Linked DNA regions of Homo sapiens: regions 1 and 2 are each linked to region 3. The links are contacts of gene promoters, found by promoter capture Hi-C in blood cells and fetal thymus (Javierre and others, 2016). All regions are on one chromosome and are shown on one strand. Each heading gives the region's core, a stretch centred on a gene start or on the middle of the fragment in contact. The rest is flanking DNA. Distances are from core to core; before and after follow the strand shown. Region 1 has its middle 120 kb from the start of LINC01734. Region 2 has its middle 58 kb from the start of LINC01734. Region 3 holds the start of MAFB (MAF bZIP transcription factor B).

What was found. The method cuts DNA at HindIII sites, captures the fragments that hold promoters and counts their contacts. A CHiCAGO score of 5 or more calls a contact.
Region 1: a contact is called between a fragment that was not itself captured here and the fragment with the promoter of MAFB in region 3, in 1 of 17 cell types (endothelial precursors). The highest score is 7.4, in endothelial precursors.
Region 2: a fragment that was not itself captured here is called in contact with the fragment with the promoter of MAFB in region 3 in 1 of 17 cell types (endothelial precursors); the score reaches 6.4 in endothelial precursors.

What each region holds. Positions count from the first base shown.
Region 1 is chr20:39,101,286-39,103,985 of GRCh38, forward strand. No RefSeq gene overlaps it. Among named protein-coding and RNA genes, the nearest start is that of LINC01734, 120 kb to the right of the region's middle. The HindIII fragment of the contact is 991 bases long and covers 928-1,918 here.
Region 2 is chr20:39,280,913-39,283,612 of GRCh38, forward strand. No RefSeq gene overlaps it. Among named protein-coding and RNA genes, the nearest start is that of LINC01734, 58 kb to the left of the region's middle. RefSeq lists enhancers at 1,275-1,953, 1,954-2,630. The HindIII fragment of the contact is 6,741 bases long and covers 1-2,700 here.
Region 3 is chr20:40,687,841-40,690,540 of GRCh38, forward strand. MAFB (MAF bZIP transcription factor B) reads right to left here and starts at 1,396. Exons shown (of 1, transcript NM_005461.5): 1 at 1-1,396. The coding sequence starts at 1,010. The coding sequence ends at 39. RefSeq lists silencers at 1,259-1,328, 1,349-1,658 and enhancers at 1,609-2,586, 2,587-2,700. The HindIII fragment of the contact is 7,144 bases long and covers 641-2,700 here.

The DNA.
Region 1 (2,700 bases), core at 173-2,672, 1.6 Mb before region 3:
TTGAGTGTTGTGGAAATGATAAAAACTGCTTTTCCATTTCCGTCACTTGGACCCAGGGATTTTTTATTGAGCAGAATCAGCCTATTGGGCATTGCTTTCTCCTGAGGTTGCCTTCGGGGCAGGACTTTGGTTCAGTAAGAAGAGCAGGGGTCCCTGGGAGGGATGTCAGGAATGATCTGGACAGAGGGCATAGGGCATCTTTCCTGAGCATATTTAGGAGGAATTTGGGTGGCCAAGAGAAAGGATCTGAGCAGACCACCCAGGAGTAGGAAAAGGGGGCTTGGGCACTAGGGGTGGGGTTGGGGTGGATTGTGGAAATTGTTTTATTCAGCTCAACTCTCCTGGGCTTTTCCCATTCACCATGAAAAGAAGATCCTCCAATTAGTCACTGGTCCCAGAGTGTGAGCCCCATGGAACATACCTGAAAGTGACCTGCAGTCAGGAGCAAAGCCAGTCCTGCTGACTGCAGACCCACGAGTATTGTATACCGTTGAGCCACTTGGGGCTGTTTGTTATGCAGCATTATGAAACAGAAATCTGAGGAGCACAGGGACTTCTCCGTACCTTCATGACTCCCTGGGCTGAGCCCACTGTAGCACTGTGGCTCGTGGTCTAGAATCACCTCTGTCTCTAACTAGTATGAGGTTTAGGGGTTAAGAGTGGAATCCCAGTCTCTGGGTTCAAATTCTGGTTTTGATTATAGTATTGGATAAGTCATTTAACTCCTTTTTGTGTCACTGCCCATTTCATAGTCTCCCGTTTCTCCATGCATCATTCGGGTGGGGACCAGAGGCACCTAGCCCTCAAATCAGGAAAAGGGTGACTCCTTCCCTGGCAGCCATCCCTCCAGCCTGCTCAACAGCCAGACTCCAGCTTCACATGCCTTTTTGTGCCTCCAGGCCATCGGTCAGGTTGTCCCCTTCCTGAAGCTTCCTTCTCACCCTGACAGCTTCTCCAGATCCCTTGAGGCCTGGATTCAAATGTCACCTCTTTTCCCTGAGCATCCTGAAGCAGATGACAGTTGCCCAAACCTCTCCTTGTCACTCCTGGATTGTGCTGTGCTGTGGTTATTTGCTTGTTGCCTTCAGGCCTGGGATGGGCTGGGACTGATCAGTTGACCCTCTGGCTTCTTGCCAGAGTTTTTAGCAGGAGACACACAGCATCCTGTACCCTCCGTCTCTTCCTCCCCTACTGAGACTTGATGCACCCCTCACCAAGGGAAGGTGAACTGATCCTGCCTGCTAAGTTGCTCAGTACATAATTACATACCTATCACGGCATGGGGCTTTTCGGTGTACTTATCCCAGCCCTGATCTCCAGGGTGGGTATGCGGGATGGAGGCAGGGAAGAAGTGCTGAGCCCTTGCCTGTGGGAAGGAAGAGGAGGGTGATGTCAGGAGGCAGCAAGGCCCTGAGGAGGAGGGATGGGGGGTCACCTGCTGGGTGAGCTGGCCTGGGGTTCCCTGGGAGCTTGGGCCCTTCATTAACAGTTTGAGGCACGGAGACCTCAGGTCTGGACTTCTTCCACCACTGACTCACTTCTTGTCTGGCTTGAAGTCTACATTCAAATATGTTGTTTCCTTTCCCTGAGCATCCCAAGCAGATATTAGCCCTGCACCTGAAGCTCCCAAGTTCCCTCCATATCTTGGTGACACTCAAGTACCATACTCTGAAATGGCGGGGTGGGATGGGGGGCATCAAAAGACACTAGAACTTTGATTTCCAGTTTTCTACATTCCATAGGCAAGTAAAATAAAACAAATGAAATACCCAGAGGAGATACCCTTATGTAAAGAGCAGGCCATATCTTTTCTAAGTAATGATGTATAAAACAGCTGTCTTCTTTTATTATTACTATTTCACAAAAGAAAGAATAGTTTAATAGTAAAAACTGGGAGAAAGATATGGTCTCAGAATTAAGCTTCTCCCAAGAAAGGAGAGGGAGCAATGGTGCACAAATGTGAATATCATCTATATTGTGGAGAAGATGTTAGAGCAAAAGAGAAATTGCTAAAGTATTCAACAGAGAAATATCAAATGCCCCTAAATAAAATGTATAGATTGGAGGAAGAAATTTTCAGTGTGTGCAGAAACGATGATGATGATGATGAGGATGAGGATGATGGAGGTGATGATGGTAAGGACGATGATGATGAAGATGGGGTGGTGATGATGAAGGTGGACATGGTGATGATGATGGTGATGAAGATGGAAATGGTGGTGGTAATTATGGCGATGAAGATGTTGGTGGCTGTGGTGATGATGGTGCTGGAGATGGCGATGGTGATGGTGCTGATGGTGATGATCATGGAGATGGTGATGGTGTTAATGATGGTGCTGGAGATGACAGTGGCAATGCTGATGATGGCAATGGTGATGGTGATGATGTCTGACCTTTGTTGAGCTCCTACTGGGTAATAGGTACTGTACTCCATGGATTATCTTATTTAAGACTTAACCCCATGTATTATATTCCTGAAGCCGCTGCAACAAATTACCACAAACTAGGTGATGTAAGACAACAGCAATTTATTCTCTTATAGTTCTGGAGACCAGAAGTCTGAAATCAACTCTGGGCTGCACTCCCTCTGGAGGCTGTAGGGAAGAATGCTTCCTTGCCTCTTCAGCTTCTGGTGGCTGCCAACATTCCTTGGCTTCCTTGGCTTGTGGCCACATCACTTCAATTTCAGTCTCCCTTTTC
Region 2 (2,700 bases), core at 95-2,594, 1.4 Mb before region 3:
GGAATTCACTTTAAGACGTCGAACTCATTTAGAAAGAACCAGAATAGTTACTGTGCATCTAGAATGTAAGGAAAAAAAGCAAACAAGAAACAAATTAACACTGTTCTTTCATTAGCTACAGCTCGCCATTCAGTCTTGTGGGTCTGGTCAGTCACCTTTGACCCCTGACCTCTTGCCTTGACCTAGGCATACAGGCCATTGCCAAGCTCTCTTGAGTCTGTATGTAGAGAGATTTTAAGAGCTCATAGGGCCCTCTGAGGTCATTTGGTCAGCTCAACTTCCAGTATTTGTATTTTAGTTGTCAAGCACTTCTTTTCTAAAGGAATGTGACCCTGAAAGTCCAATATGTAAAAACAGACTGAGGTAGAGATGCCATGATTGAAACACAGGATCAGGAGGTCATATTCCTTCTACTGAGGGCTTTGCAGATGCCGTTCTCTTGGACAGAAATGCAATTCCATCCTCCCTGTCCCAATTATCCGGCTAAGTATTACTTGTGCTTTAGGTCCTAGCTTAAATAACACTTTCTTCAGGAAGCCTTCCCTGACCTTCTTTTGACCAGGTCAGTTTTCCCTTCTGTATATTCATAGTCCTGTTACCTCTATTTGCTAGCACACGCCTCAGTTGCAAATTTGCATCTATTAATATTAATTTCCTCTTACACTAGGAGCAAAATAGAGGAAAGCCTGTGATGAGTTTGTTTACTATTATACTCCGGGCACTCATTGCAAGGCCTGGCTTGCACACAATTGGTGTCACTTAATATTAATACCTTAATAGAAGTGTATCTGATTTAATCCCATTCTTTTCCAGATTGCACAAATGCTACTGTGTCCACTGCATGCCAGATACTCTTTGAGTACTGGAAATACGCTAGTGAAGGAGGCGGACAGGAGTATGCGTCTAGTCAGGATGACAGACAACAGAGGAATCATTAATTTCAATGGTGATAAATGCATTTCATACATTGGACCTCTATGTAATATTTAATCAGAAGATAAAGTTCTTTTACTGAAAAATAATTAGTAGGTTTCTAGGCCAGCACATTTTGTGGGTCATGAAGTCAGCAGCTAAGAGTGGTACTTGGAATCTTGTCTTTGTGGTTCATTTAGGGTGGGAGAGTGTCTGTGAGGCCCAGCCACCTTGTCAGAATGGAAGTTTCATCACCCGCTGATGAGTGTTAGACAGTGCGTCAGTTCATCTCAAAGTTGCCAAAATATGCACCTACCTGGGTCTGCTTTGATAAATAGATAAGAACTTGTGTTCCTTGCGAGTCCATCAGAACTCAGTTATCATAATCATCTGTCACATGTTCCTTAACCCTATGGGCAATTCTAGGGAGGTGGCTGATCTAGATGAAAGAAGGTCCTTCAGCAACTGTCCAGGGCACTTGGAAGAATATCCAAGCTCCCCACCATGACCTATGGGCCTGTGCTGATCTCGGTCTCTTCTCCCTGCCCATCTTCATTTTGTTCCATGGCCTCTCATGTTGCAGATGTCAATCTCAGGTCCTATTTGAATTATTCCCAGTTGCAAATCAGGAAGGTATTAATTGGTGCATGTTCTGTAAGTGCTGTTAGAATTAGAGCTACTGGGCTGGCTGACAGGAGTTTAGAGGGCAGCCCTTTTCCTCCTCTGAGCCTGTCTCCCCAGCCATCCCTTCTAAAAGTTGCTGGGCTGATGCTTGTATCTTGGCTGGCTCTGATGCCAGCTCTGACGGGGCCACCCTGGAACCTGCTTGCACAGGCTGTCGAGGGCGTGAGAACCCAAGCAGACAACTCCCAGTCCTACCTCCTTTGCTGTGCCAGGCTGCCAGTGCCAGCTGAGGAGGCCCCCTCCTGCCTCTGCTTGTTTCCCTTGATTGTTATGTAATGTTCGGCAGCAGGAGGTAAATTCCTCTCCAATTTCCAGGCCCGTTACAGCGCATGAACCCCACCGTGGGGAGCCACAGTGATTGAGCTCAGCAGCCAGGTCCCATGCTGAGTGTCATAAATCAGGCCTATTACCAGCTTCTCCTGGCAGATGCCATAGCCAAGAACCTGCCCACTGCTTGCGAGACCCAGCCGCCTCTGCATACTGTTAAACCAGGGCTGACAGATCCACCGGGGATTTAGGGGATCTTCATGACACTCTGGCTGGGTGTTGCCAGGAATCTTATTCTGAGAGAGCAGGAGGTGACACAGCCCTTGGCAAGGCATCTCAGACCTGAGATCTCACAGCCTGATGTACGGGGAGCAGAATCAGGGCATGATCACCTGCAGGCTACCTGGATTTCCTGGTATGGTGGCCTCTTGTGTGCCTGGCTGTACACGTAAGAACCTCTAGGGGACTTGTTAAAAAATATACATCTCCCAGGTCCATCCCCAGAGATTCTGATTTGGTAAGTGTTCCTTGGGACATGGAAATTAGCATTTTTTACTAGATCCCAGGTGATTCTGATGCAGGTGGTTCCTGGACCACCCTTTGAGAAATGCTGCTTTGGGACCAGCTGTATCCCTGAAGTGATGCCTGTAAAATGAATGCCTATAAATTGTGGGTCTTTTTTTTCCATTTCCTTCTATCATTTGGCTGAAGATGTGTTTGCCTGGGGAAGAAGATGTGGGCTTCAAGAATCAATGGCAATCAAACTGAAGAATAAGACAAATCTTTGACTATGACATATTTAAAGGGCAATAATAATGCTAATAGCAAGGGGAAAAG
Region 3 (2,700 bases), core at 146-2,645:
GGGCCGGGGCAAGGGCGGGGGCCAGGACCGGCCACGACTCACAGAAAGAACTCGGGAGAGGAGGGGCTGTCGCTGGTGGAGCCCGCCTCCCTGAAGCCGGAGTTGGCGAGTTTCTCGCACTTGACCTTGTAGGCGTCTCTCTCGCGGGCCAGCCGGGACACCTCCTGCTTAAGCTGCTCCACCTGCTGAATGAGCTGCGTCTTCTCATTCTCCAGGTGGTGCTTCTGCTGGACGCGTTTATACCTGCAAGACTGGGCGTAGCCCCGGTTCTTCAGGGTCCGCCGCTTCTGCTTCAGGCGGATCACCTCGTCCTTGGTGAAGCCCCGCAGGTGGCGGTTCAGCTCGCGCACGGACATGGACACGAGCTGGTCGTCGGAGAAGCGGTCCTCCACGCTGCCGTTGCCGCCCGCCGCCGTCGCCGAGGCCGTCGCGTGCGGCCCGGGCCCGGGGTGGCTAGTGGGCAGCTGTTGCGCCGGGCTAGCGGCGCTGGACGGCGGCGGCGACGCTTGGTGATGATGGTGATGGTGCGGGTGAGCGTGCGGGCCCAGCTCGTCGTGGGCCACGCCGGCGCCCGGGTACGCGTGGTGCGGGTGAGGGTGGTGGTGATGGTGGTGGTGGTGAGCGCCGCGAAAGCTGTCGAAGCTTTGCAGCGGCTGTGGCACTGGGTGCGAGCCGATGAGCGCTTCCACCGCGTCCTCGGGCGTCAGGTTGAGCGCCTCGGGGTTCATCTGCTGGTAGTTGCTCGCCATCCAGTACAGATCCTCGAGGTGTGTCTTCTGTTCGGTCGGGCTGAAGCTGGGCGACGAGGGCACGGAGCTACACGGAGTGCTGAGCGGTGTGGAGGACACCGAGCCGGCTGGCTGCAGGCGTGTGCAGGGCCTGCCCGGACGCTCCGCGCGCCCCAGTGGCTCCTTCTTCACGTCGAACTTGAGCAGGTCGAAGTCGTTGACATACTCCATGGCCAGCGGGCTGGTGGGCAGCTCTGGCCCCATGCTCAGCTCCGCGGCCATCGCTGAAGCGAGGCGCAGCCGCCGCTGCCGCCCGGGAAACTTTGCGGCCGGCCGGAGCGCGCCGAGCCAAGCGCGGGGGGGAAGAGCGGAGAAGAGCTGGGGAGGCGGGGAGCGAGGGCGCAGCGGGCCGGGGCCGCCGGCCAAGCCTTTGTCTGGGGACGCGGCGGCGCGCCGGAGAGTCCCGAGGCTGCCTGCACCGCCCCAGAGCTCTGGGCTGTGCCCGCGCAGGGACCGGGCCGGGTAGAGTCGGGCGGGGTGGAGAGGCAAGCGGAGCGCGCGGTGGGGCTGAGGGGAGGCGTGGGGCGAGTGCCCGTTGCTCGCTCTCTAGCTCTCTTGCTCTTACGCTCTCTCGCTCGCAGCCGCTCGCAGCTCGGCGGTGCAGCTGTGCTGGATCCGGCGGCGCCGCAGCCTTTTATCGCCTCCTGATGTCACTGGGGTGCGGGGGCCCGGGCGGCCCGGTGCGCGGGCCAATAGCTGCACGGCCTCCGCGGCCCAGCGGCGCAGGGCGGGGCGCGCCTGACAGCTCCCCCGCCCCCCGCGTCAGCTGACTGGCGGCCCGAGCGGCCCCGGAGCGGCGGAGGCCTGGCGGAGCGCTGGAGCGGAGTGGGACGGCCAGCCTGGGCCCACCCCCGTACCCTGCAGGTCCCGGCCCACGCACGCTCGCCTGGAGTGCGCGCCCCACCTCTAGGCCAAATCACCGCTTTCCCCTCCTCGCGCACTCTCCTCCCTCAGTTCCCTTTGCACCCCACCCCCATCCCGTGTCACCCCCAAGGAGGCTCAGAATGAGCGCCGGGACAACGCCTCCTGGGCCCTTTGTTCCCAAGCGGCCCCCGCCCAGTGGGCGACGCTCTGTGTGTCCTCGCGGCTTCTGGCCGTGTGTGTCGTGCGTTCCTGTTTCTGGAGATCTGCGCGTATTTGTATGTTGGGGAGGGCGGGCTCGAGGCTCCGAGAGTTGTGTTCAGACCCAACTCTTAACCTCAGGGGACCTTTCTCAGGCCAAGCGAGGGCCCCTCCTGGCGGGTGCAGTCGCAGAGCCCTGAGGTTCGACTCCACTGGCCCCGCCGCTCCCCGCGTTCACCCCACCGCACAATGTTCACAGTGAAGGCGACGGGAAAAGCAGCAGCCCAAAGGCTCTGAATTCCTCTTCCCCGCCACACGCACGGAATCCTGAGCCCCCGGAGCCTCGGGGCCGAGGCCGGCCCGGGACGGTGCTCCGAGTAGCTCTCCACTGCTGGGGAGCCGGCCCTGTTTTTGTTTGAACGTTTTGTAACGATTAAGCAGATCCCGGCGTCAGCCCGCCGCGGAGAGGCTCAAACAGGCATAAAGTGCGACCCCAAGTGGCCACTGTGCGCAAAGGCGCCGCGACCGCCCGGCCCACGGCCGGAAGGCTTGGACGGCGCCTCGTACCCAGCCAGGTCTCCCCTACCTGGCCCAACCCAAGCCAGCCCAGAACGCATACTATGTGTGCACCAGAGCCCAGGACAGGTTCCCCTCGAGCGATGTACAGGTCCTCGGGTCCCGTCTTCGTACTCAGCCGCGAGCCTCGAGCCGCGAGCTCCGCTCTGGTCGCCCCGTTGAAATTCCGTGCCCCAGCGTTCGGGGGTGCCCGTCGGCTGCTCCCTGGGCCGGAAGGTCCTGGGCGGAGGAAGGCCGGTAGCCAAAAGTGGAAGCGCCACAGTGAAGCGGCCCA